Regions from separate parts of the Homo sapiens genome. Here region 2 is linked to region 1. Evidence: promoter capture Hi-C in 16 types of primary human blood cells and fetal thymus (Javierre and others, 2016). All regions are on one chromosome and are shown on one strand. Each heading gives the region's core, a stretch centred on a gene start or on the middle of the fragment in contact. The rest is flanking DNA. Distances are from core to core; before and after follow the strand shown.

Region 1 (5,558 bases), core at 2,404-4,903:
TGAATAAAATACCTGGGAGAGGAATTGCTGGGTCATGTAAGAAACTGCCAAACTCAACAATTCTTTTTAACCTTATAAATGTCATTACTATGAATGTCCACAAAAGGACATTGTACATTTCCTCCAAAGAGCAAAGGGTTAGAGGGAGAATAATTTTTATGAGAAAAACTTTAAAAATTTGATACCTTAAAAATACGTTAAACTTTTCATAACAATATTTTTTTTCCTTTTTATTTTTTATTTATTTATTTTTTTTCTGAGACGGAGTCTCGCTCCGTCACCCAGACTGGAGTGCAGTGGCGCGATCTTGGCTCACTGCAAGCTCCGCCTCCCGGGTTCACGCCATTCTCCTGCCTCAGCCTCCCAAGTAGCTGGGACTACAGGCGCCCGCCACCACGCCCGGCTAATTTTTTGTATTTTTAGTAGAGATGGGGTTTCTCCGTGTTAGCCAGGATGGTCTCGATCTCCTGACCTCGTGATCCGCCCGCCTCGGCCTCCCAAAGTGCTGGGATTACAGGCATGAGCCACCGCGCCTGGCCTCCTTTTTAAAAAATATATTTTAGGGACAGGGTTTTTCTTTGTTGCCCAGGCTGGTCTTGAACTCTTGAGTTCAAGCTATCACAGCCTCACAAAGTGCTGGGATTACAGGCGTGAGCCACCATGCCCAGCCCTCAATATTTTTTAATAGATAGTATGCAAGGGGATTAGAAAAGTGTAATAAGAAAGGAGTTGAAAAAGAGAGCAAACTAATGCAAAATAATTACTAAAGACTTCTTGACAATGGCAAAATCATCCTACACAGCTGCTCTGAGATCTCAGCACTTGCTGTCAGCTACCTTCTGGCAAAGCTACTTTGTCAAATGGATGCAATAGGATCCATATTGATCTTTGTGAAGGAATATCTTTATTAATATAAGCAAACACGCCTCTCACTTATAGTAATGTAGAGGTGTGGGCTTTTTCTTTTAGTAGTATTGTTTCCCCAACATATATCACTTTCCTTTGAAATGTGGGCTGAGTCATAAATTAATGTCACAAATGAGGGAGGCAACTATGTTACAAAGTAGGAAGGCGTAGATATGAATTGTTACAGTTGACAGCTAAGTACTCTTGAACTAAATGTCATTATGTCAAATTCTGAGATATTAAACAATTGTTGAAATGTAAAATTGTGGACATTTAGGTTTGCAGCCTAAAAAGTTTTGTCAATCTTTTCTAGACATTCTGAAATGGAAATGAACAGGTGGATTGAAAACAAAGACAAATGAGGAGTTTAAAGACTTTCTTGGCACCTCATAGAGAAGTTGCTCTACGCTGGTTATGTTTTAAACAAAACACATATAAATACATTCAGCATTTCTGGAAACAGATTTATTAGATCTTTCCATTTACCTTTGGGAAAAAAATATAGAGGACTCAAGGCAATTATTCACTATATTCTTTCTATCATGTATTATTTAATCTCAAGCTAGGAGAGGAACTCTGTTTTACATGATGCCATAATGTACATTAGTGAGCTCAACCCACTTAATCTTAAAATAACAGTATCAGGTCAGGGATTTAGAATACAGTATTATATGAAAACAGTTGGCAGAGAGACTCCCTCTTCTGCCATTAATAACTGGAAACGATATTTCAGACCCTAAATCCAACTGAAACCCAGAAACAATACATGGAGAGGATGGGGTGGATAATTTGTGAGAACATGTTTTTCAAAGTAGAGAAAGAATCACTATGTTTTTGCTGAATTATATGTTGCCATGGACATGGCAGTTTGCAGTAATGATGCTATCATCTATACAGCTGTATAACAACACAGCTTCTTTCTCTCCCACTCCTTCAGTAAGGCTTAAAAATAATAGGTTTGTGTGTAGTTTGGTAAGAAAATTAGAATCACTTAAAGTCATTTCAATTCCAACCCAAGAAAGAAAAAAAGAGACTTGGGGGGATGGGGAAGAAGAGCAAACAAAATGTAGAAAAAATACATATTATTGGCCGGGCACGGTGGCTCACGCCTGTAATCCCAGCACTTTGGGAGGCCAAGGTAGGCGGATCATCTGACATCAGGAGTTCGAGACCAACCTGACCAACATGGTGAAACCCTGTCTCTACTAAAAAGACAAAAAAATTAGCCGGGCGTGGTGGCACATGCCTGTAATCCCAGCTACTCAGGAGGGTGAGACAGGAGAATCGCTTGAACCCAGGAGGCAGAGGTTGCAGTGAGCCGAGATCCTGCCATTGCACTACAGCCTGGGCAACAAGAGCAAAACTCCGTCTCAAAAAAAAAAGAAAGAGAAAAGAAAAAATACATATTATATAATGAAGTATAATATGCATTATGCAGAGACTAAAGAGGGGAGTCTTGGTTGCCTGAAAACTAATGGGTAAAATCCATTGAAGTGGGTGAATCCAGTGAAAAGACCTGGATTGAGTCCTTGTTGCATCCCTTGCATGTGACCTTGAGCAAAGTCACCATGTCTTTAAGGCTGTTTTCTCACCTATAAAATGGAATAATTGGCCGGCGTGGTGGGTCACACCTGTAATCCCAGCACTTTGGGAGGCTGAGGCAGGCAGATCACCTGAGGTCAGGAGTTTGAGACCAGCCTGGCCAATATGGTGAAACCCCGTCTCTACTAAAAATACAAAAGTTAGCCGGGGGTGGTGGCAGGCCCCTGTAATCCCAGCTACTTGGGAGGCTGACGCAGGAGAATCACTTGAACCCGAGAGGCGGAGGTTGCAGTGAGCTGAGATCGCGCCACTGCACTCCAGCCTGGGTGACAAGAGCGAGATTGTCTCAAAAAAAAAAAAATCATAACGGTAACGTCCTATACCTCAAGGGACTGTGGTAAGAATTAAAAGGGTGAAATCAATGTGTAAACTATGAAGCCCAATAGAAATAAGGTGTTATACAGACAATTGCACTATTGAATCTCCGGAGACAGAGTTGAGTTAAGGAAAAATGCACTTTCGGAAAGCTTTGGCGACTGAACGACCTGAGTTCTCCAACGCCAAGGCTGGAAGTTTGGAGACCTTGAAACAAGTAAATTACCATTAATATCATAATTTTCAGTTTCCTTTTAAGAAATGAGAGTAACACCACTTTCTTCACAGAATCAAGTGAGAGAGAACCTATGCAAAGGAACTTATCACTTGGTAGGTATTTGAAGCTCCCTCTGCCTGAAAACTACTTATTCAAAGACTGCAACAAAAGGTGTTCACAGTGTGGTATCTTTCAAAACATACGCTAAGGCAAGGAACAGATAAGGAAATGGAAGTACATCCAATTGGGATCCAAGCAACCCAAGTGGGAACCAACAGCTAGACTTGGAGATGTCTTAGCTCACTCTTAACCACGTGAGGGTAGGGTATCCAACCAATAAAGACATTCAGAGTTGGAGAGCGGGCGAGTGGAGTGTCCTTTAGACTCCGCGGACTCGACGGGAGGGACCCTGCAATGCTTAATTAGAACCGGTTGCCATGGCGACAGTCTCTAGGCAGCGTGGGCTGAGCTCTCCGTAGGAATAAAGGGTGGGCCGCCGCTGGACCCTGCGCGCGCCCGCCACCAACTTTCCCTCCAGATCCGAGAGGGGCGGCGCGCTCCGCCCCCGGGCCGCGCACGTCGGTGCTCGGCGGCGCGCACGCCTGCGGGAGCCCTCTCCAGGCAACCTAGTGCTGATCGCTCGTGCCGGTGCGGCCGTTAACCGCCCTTGCCGGAGCCCTAGGCTCAAAAGCAGCCCCTTACCCTTCCTGGGCTTCCCCCAACCCCTTTCCCGGTCTGCCCTGGGGCATGAGCAGCGATGGCCGGCTGCATCCCTGAGGAGAAAACTTACCGGCGCTTCCTGGAGCTATTCCTGGGCGAGTTTCGCGGACCGTGCGGCGGCGGCGAGCCGGAGCCGGAACCCGAACCCGAACCCGAACCCGAACCCGAGTCCGAGCCCGAGCCCGAACCTGAACTGGTAGAAGCTGAGGCGGCCGAGGCTTCGGTAGAGGAACCCGGGGAGGAGGCGGCCACGGTAGCCGCGACGGAGGAGGGGGACCAGGAGCAAGACCCGGAGCCCGAGGAGGAGGCGGCGGTTGAGGGTGAGGAGGAGGAGGAGGGCGCGGCGACGGCGGCGGCAGCCCCGGGGCACTCGGCCGTGCCGCCGCCGCCGCCCCAGCTGCCGCCTTTGCCCCCGCTCCCGCGACCGCTGTCAGAGCGCATCACCCGCGAGGAGGTGGAGGGCGAAAGCCTGGACCTGTGCCTGCAGCAGCTCTACAAATAGTTAAGTAGCTGGGCTTGGCTGGTGGTGGGCCCGCGGTCCCCACCGCGCCGGCCTCGGACGCGGCTCCCTCGGCCCCTCAAACTGCTCTCTTTTCTGCTCCTCTCCCCCGCACCCGCGCCTGCCGCCGCTGAAAGCGCCCCCGCTGCTCGGACCCGGGCGGTCGGCTGAGAGCTGCCCACGCCCGCCTCGGCCCCCACGCCCGCCTCGGCCCCCACGCCTCCTACCCGGCCTTGAAGCCGCTCTCCTGAGCCCCGGCGCCCTCCCGCCGGGCCCGGGCCCCTCATCCCCTTTCACCTCGGCCCCCAGCTTCTAGCTCCACTTCACGCAACCTTTCCCTTTCCTGCCTGGAAAGGTCCTTCCTCCCAGGCTTGAGCTCCCTCTTCTTCCCAGATCCCTTCTTTCTCCGGGAGGTTTCCTCCCACCCCAGTCTGTCTTTTCCCGGGCTGAGTGCCTTGTTGTTTGGCGGCAGAGACGCGACTCCTTTCTAGACTGAGCTGCGAGGTGCCTCCTGCGTAACTGCAACAATGATGGTTATACCGGCCCCGTATCCAGATGAGAGAATGGAGTAGATTTTCCGTCAGGTGCTCAGTGTTGAAAGTGAAGGGCTTTTTAGATGTTTTCACACAGGGAAGCCTAGTCTCTTAGTTTAGACATTTGACATTCCATAATTGAGGGAAGTGGGAAGGAATTGAGAGGGAAGGGTAAGCAAAATTTTGCAAGCAAGCCTTCGGGTGAAAGAGCCATAATTCATTAAAGTGGAAAAGTCAGGCTGTTTTGATTAAATTGCAATTAGGTGCAGTATTTTCAGTCCATTAAGTAGATGGGATGGGGTGGGGAGAAAGCAGATGGCTTAGCTACACAGATGAAAGTCTAAAATAGAAAGGTCAAGGCTTTGCCTTTCATCCCAGTTCTGGTTTTTATAGGCCTGAAATAGAAACGGTTTACAATTGCGTTTCTCAATGGAATTGTTCCGAAATAATGACAGAGGAGAATACTAGTAAGTCTCTGAAAACATTGGTAAACCTGGGAAGTCTTTTGCCATTCAGCTGATAGTTGTAATGAAAGGTGTTACTCTGGCCACCCAAAAAGTTTACTACTGCAAGATTCGCTGTAATTAAGTTCAAACTCACTTTTGGGATTTTCTCAAAAGCCTAAAGAAAAGAAGGGCCTGGAAAGTAAACCTGTTTTGTCTTCATCCAAGCTAATAGACACCTGATCAGATCATTCTCCTGTTAAAGCAGCAGTTTATCAATAGGGGAAAATCATTTAACAAATCTTCCATAGAAGTGGACTGTG
Region 2 (5,525 bases), core at 17-2,516, 290 kb after region 1:
GCGGATCACGAGGTCAGGAGATCGAGACCATCCTGGCTAACACGGTGAAACCCTGTCTCTACTAAAAATACAAAAAATTAGCTGGGTGTGGTGGCAGGCACCTGTAGTCCCAGCTACTCAGGAGGCTGAATCAGGAGAATGGCGTGAACCCAGGAGGCAAGCTTGCAGTGAGCCAAGATTGCACAACTGCACTCCAGCCTGGGCGACAGAGCGAGACTCCATCTCAAAAAAAAAAAAAAAATCAGCCAGTTCTTCTTAGAAAGCTAAGAAAAAAAGGAATTTAAAAAAAAAAAAAAAAAAATATATATATATATATATATATATATCTCAAGGCCGGGCGCAGTGACTCACGCCTGAAATCCCAGAACTTTGGGAGGCTAAGGTGGGAGGATCACCTGAGGTCAGGATTTCGAGACCAGCCTGGCCAACATGGCAAAACCCTGTCTCTCCTAAAAATACAAAAATTAGCTGGGCGTTGTGGTGGGGACCTGTAATCCCAGCTCCTCGGGAGGCTGAGGCAGCAGAATCGGTTGAACCCGGGAGGTGGAGGTTGTAGTGAGCCAAGATTGCACTACTGCACTTCAGCCTGGACGACAGAGCGAGACTCTGTCTCAAGGAGGACAGGACAGGACAGGAAAGGAAAGGAAAGGAAGATTAAAAAAAAAGAACTGTGTCAGGCAAAAAAATAGAAATAAATGAAACACTAAAAAATCTAAGAACCACTATTAGAAGAGATTAATCTCTCCTATTTAATTAGTGTTAGAAACACTAATAAATACAAGAACCACTGTTAGAAGAAATTACAGCTTCAGAGAACTGGTAGCTTAATGGCAATAAGCTTAAAACACTACATGTAGTGTTAGGCTTAAAACACTACATTTTAACATCCAAAAAAAGCCCAAATTACTGTATATGACTAAATACCATTTTTCAAAAATAATATTTCAGCAAAGAGGGTATTACTTCCTACTCGGCCATACAAAGTCTCTCATGTTAAAAAACAATCACTATTACTTTATTTTAAACAACATACTACTTGAAACAGTACCAGTCAATGACAGTCTTGGGTATTTAAGGAAATCTCAAGATAAGCACCCAGCTTGACAATGTAAGGAGCTCTGTAGGTCTGCTCTTTAGTCAAACTGGTGACAATTATTTTAAAAACAACCACTTAACGACTCTGGAAATGGTCCCAAGGGCATACAGCAAATGAAGAAACATCTACTCAAAAAAATCTATAAAAACTGGGTAAGACAAGTGGGCATCTGCAGTATTTGAACCAAGATCACTCCACTTCCTAACTTGGTGTTACAGAAATTCCACTCCAGACTGGTGCAGTGAAGAACACAGGCCTCCCACTTCCCGAACTTCCAAGAGGAGGGCTATATTCCTGGGAGTGGCAAGGTATCAGCATCTCTCATTCTGCCCCCAGCTACCTATTGCTGATGCTATAGTACAGGCACACACGGCCAAGAGGTGGAGACTCCCTTCTGCTGAGACCCACTTGTGGACTAGATGCTCTACCTGGATGCAGCATGATGAGAATACTGGGGCCCAGATCATCCCTGCCCCAGCTTATTCATAAGGTGGAGGTCCCAAGCCTGAAAAGGAAAGAACTAAGGCTACTGTCCCCAACATCCAGTTAGCTCAGCTTCTAAAGTAAGAGAGGTACACCTTTATCCTTACTCCAACTTCAAAGCTTTGGCTCAGAGATTTTGCCTATGGGGAGAAGCAGAGACACATACAACACTCAGAGAAACATACAACACTATTAAGAGCATCAACGAAATATAGTTGGCCTTCTTTATCTGTGGGCTCTGCATCTGTGCATTCAACCAACTGTGGATCAAAAATATTTTTTAAGCCCTGGTGTGGTGGTTCATGCCTGTAATCCCAGCACTTTGGGAAGCCGAGGCTGGAGGGACTTCTTGAGCCTAGGAGCTCCGGGCCAGCCTAGAACATAGTAAGGCAACATAGTGAGACCCTGTCTCTACAAAATATTAAAAAATTAGCCAGGTGTGTTGGCATGCACCTGTAGTCCTAGCTACTTGGAAAACTGAGGTGGGAGGATCACTTGAGCCCAGGAGGTCGAGGTTGCAGTGAGCTGTGATCACGCGACCACTGCACTCCAGCTTGGGTGACAGGGCAAGACCCCGTCTCAAAAAATAAAGCCGGCCGGGTGCTGTGGCTCACCTGAGGCCAGGAGTTCAAAACCAGCCTGGTCAACATTGCAAAACCCTGTCTCTACTAAAACTACAAAAAATTAGTCGGGCGTAGTGGCAGGCGTGTATAATCCCAGCTACTCAGGAGGCTGAGGCAGGGGAACTGCTTGAACCCAGGAGACGGAGGCTGCAGTGAGCTGAGATTGTGCCACTGCACTCCAGCCTGGGCGACAAGAGCGAAACTCCGTCTCAAAAAAAAATAAATAAAACAAAACAAAATAAAGTCATGCGCAGACATTTTCCCCTTGTCATTATTCTGTATACAATAGAGTATAACAACTACTTACATAGCATTTGCATTGTATTAGGTATTATAAGTAATCTAGAGATGATTTAAAAGTATAGGGGAGGATGTGCATAGGTTATATGCAACTACTCTGCCATTTTATATAAGATACTTGAGCATCCTCAGATTTTAGTATCCAAGGGCGGGGTCCTAGAACCAATACCGCAAGGATACTGAGGGACAACTGTACTAGCAAACAGAATGCAGTAACATATAAAAAGAATCATGAGCCGAGTGTGATGATGCACACCAGTAGTCCTAGCTACTATGGAGGCTGAGGCAGGTGGATCACTTGAGGCCAGAGTTGAAGGTTACAGGGAGCTATAATCATGCCACCATACTCCAGCCTGGCCACAAAGCCAGATTCTCTTAGGAAAAAAAAAAAATTGCTGGGTGCCGTGGCTCATGCCTGTAATCCCAGCACTTTGGGAGGCCGAGGCAGGCAGATCACAAGGTCAGGAGATTGAGATCATCCTGGCTAACACGGTGAAACCCCATCTCTATTAAAAATACAAAACAAAATTAGCCGGGCAAGGTGGTGGGCACCTGTAGTCCCAGCTACTTGGGAGACTGAGGCAGGAGAATGGTGTGAATCCAGAAGGCGGAGCTTGCAGTGAGCGGATATTGCGCCACTGCACTCCAGCCTGGGGGACAGAGCGAGACTCCGTTTCAAATAAAAAAAAAAGAAAAAAAAAATTACGGCTGGGCGAAGTGGATCACACCTGTAATTCCAGCACTTTGGGAGGCCAAGACGGGTGGATCACGAGGTCAGGTGTTTGAGACCAGCCTGGCCAACGCAGTGAAACCTCGTCTCTACTAAAAATACAAAAAATTAGCTGGGTGTGGTGGTGGGTGCCTGTAATCCCAGCTACTTGGGAGGCTGAGGCAGGAGAATCGCCTGAACCCGGGAGGCGGAGGTTGCAGTGAGCCGAGATCATGCCACTGCACTTAAGCCCGGGTGACAGTGCGAAACTCCGTCACAAAAAAAAAAAAAAGAAAAAAGAAAAAAAATTACACACTATGACCAAGTGGGATGTGTCCCAGGAATGCAAGCTTGGTTTAAAAATCCAAAAATCGCCAGGCACAGTGGCTCACACCTGTAATCCTAGCACTTTGGGAGGCTGAAGTGGGCAGATCACCTGAAGTCAGGAGTTCAAGACCAGCCTGGCCAACATGGTGAAACCCCGTCTCCACTAAAAATACAAAAAAATAGCCAGGCGTGGTGGTGCACGCCTGTAATCCTTGCTACTCGGGAGGCTGAGGTGGAAGGATCACTTGAACCCAGGAGATGGAGGTTGCAGTGAGCCAAGATCGTGACACTGCATGCCAGCCTGGGTGACAGAGCAAGACTCCATCTCAAAAAAAAAAAATTATCCACATTAATGAAATTCATTAGTTCATCAATTAACAGGGCAGAAGGAAAAGCTCTTCCTTAAATTGCAACTAATGAATGAGTAAGAAATAATGGAATTAGAAAAACACCACTTGGCAATCAACACAGTAACCTTTTTCAGGCAACACTCATCAAAGGGTGTCAAAATTCATAGGAAAAAGTAGGATGAAAAATAGGATATTTACAGTCCCATACATAAGATACTTATTAATTATAAAGGAAAAAGTACAAATTTTGGAGTGAAGAAACCTGGCGGATGCTACCTCAACTAAGTGATCAAAATTAACCACAAGTAATGGGACATACTGACATCATGCTCCACTCTGTATGACGCAGTGAAAAGGATACATTATCATTTCCGTAGTATCCCTGCCAAAAGTGTGTAACCTCTATCTAATCATGAGGAAACTTCAGACTAATCCAAACTGAGGGACTTTCTACAAAATAAACTATTCTGTATTTCTCAGAAAGTATTAGTCATGAAAAACAGTTTTTTTTTTTTTTTGAGACAGAGTCTCAACTGTCGCCCAGGCTGGAGTGCCGTGGCGTGATCTTAGCTCACTGCAAGCTCCGCCTCCCGGGTTCACCCCATTCTCCTGCCTCAGCCTACCAAGTAGCTGGGACTACAGGCGCCTGCCACCACACCTGGCTAATTTCTTTTTTGTATTTTTAGTAGAGACGGGGTTTCACCGTGTTAGCCAGGATGGTCTGGATCTCCTGACCTCGTGATCCACCCGCCTCAGCCTCCCAGAGTGCTGGGATTACAGGCGTGAGCCACCGTGCCCAGCCGAAAAACAAATTTTTAAAAAAGTAACCCAGATTGGCCAGGTGCGGTGGCTCACGCCTGTAATCCCAACACTTTGGGAGGCCGAGGTGGACGGATCATGAGGTCAGGAGATCAAGACCAACCTGGCTAACACGGTGAAACCCCGTCTCTACTAAAAATACAAAAAATTAGCTGGGCGAGGTGGCGGGCGCCTGTAGTTCTAGCTGCTCGGGAGGCTGAGGCAGGAGAATGGCGTAATCCGGAAGGTGGAGCTTGCAGTGAGCTGAGATCATGCCACTGCACTCCAGCCTGGGCGACAGAGCGAGACTCCGTCTCAAAAAAAAAGGAAAAAAAAAAAAGTAACCCAGATTGAAGATAACTAAATCGATTTAACAATTAAATGCAACATGATCCTGACAAAGGACATTACTGGCAAATTTTTAGAAGGTTACAGTATTACATCAATGTTAATTTCCAGATTTTGATAACTATTCTATAGTTATGTAAGAATATCCTTGTTTTTAGAAAAGTACACAATGAGAAGTATATTCGATCTCAAGTGTTTCAGAAAAAATTATATACAGAGAAATATAAAGCAAAATATTCATAGGGAATGAATCTGTGTGAAGGAAACATGAAATTCTGAACTTTTCTTAAGTATAAAATAATTTCAAAATTCAAATTTAAAAGTTAAAACACAAACAAAAATTATTGGCTAAGAGCCCAGAGATTAGAGAGAGAAAACTGACTATTGATTCAATCTTTCAAAAAAGTGCTGAATATCCCTACATTTAAGTGTGAGTTAGTTAATATGCTTCTAATAATTACCACTTAAATGCTTTACAGTAGTAAAGTGGG

Evidence for each region. The method cuts DNA at HindIII sites, captures the fragments that hold promoters and counts their contacts. A CHiCAGO score of 5 or more calls a contact.
Region 2: a contact is called between a fragment that was not itself captured here and the fragment with the promoter of PPM1E in region 1, in 2 of 17 cell types (M0 macrophages and M1 macrophages). The highest score is 6.5, in M0 macrophages.

Annotation. Positions count from the first base shown.
Region 1 is chr17:58,752,201-58,757,758 of GRCh38, forward strand. It overlaps PPM1E (protein phosphatase, Mg2+/Mn2+ dependent 1E), which reads left to right and starts at 3,654. Exons shown (of 7, transcript NM_014906.5): 1 at 3,654-4,261. The coding sequence starts at 3,798. LOC105371843 (a long non-coding RNA gene) reads right to left here and starts at 3,910. Exons shown (of 3, transcript XR_007065866.1): 1 at 3,831-3,910. RefSeq lists silencers at 3,473-3,662, 3,662-3,810. The HindIII fragment of the contact is 8,580 bases long and covers 2,974-5,558 here.
Region 2 is chr17:59,042,150-59,047,674 of GRCh38, forward strand. The region is part of intron 16 of TRIM37 (tripartite motif containing 37); the gene reads right to left. Among named protein-coding and RNA genes, the nearest start is that of TRIM37, 62 kb to the right of the region's middle. The HindIII fragment of the contact is 861 bases long and covers 837-1,697 here.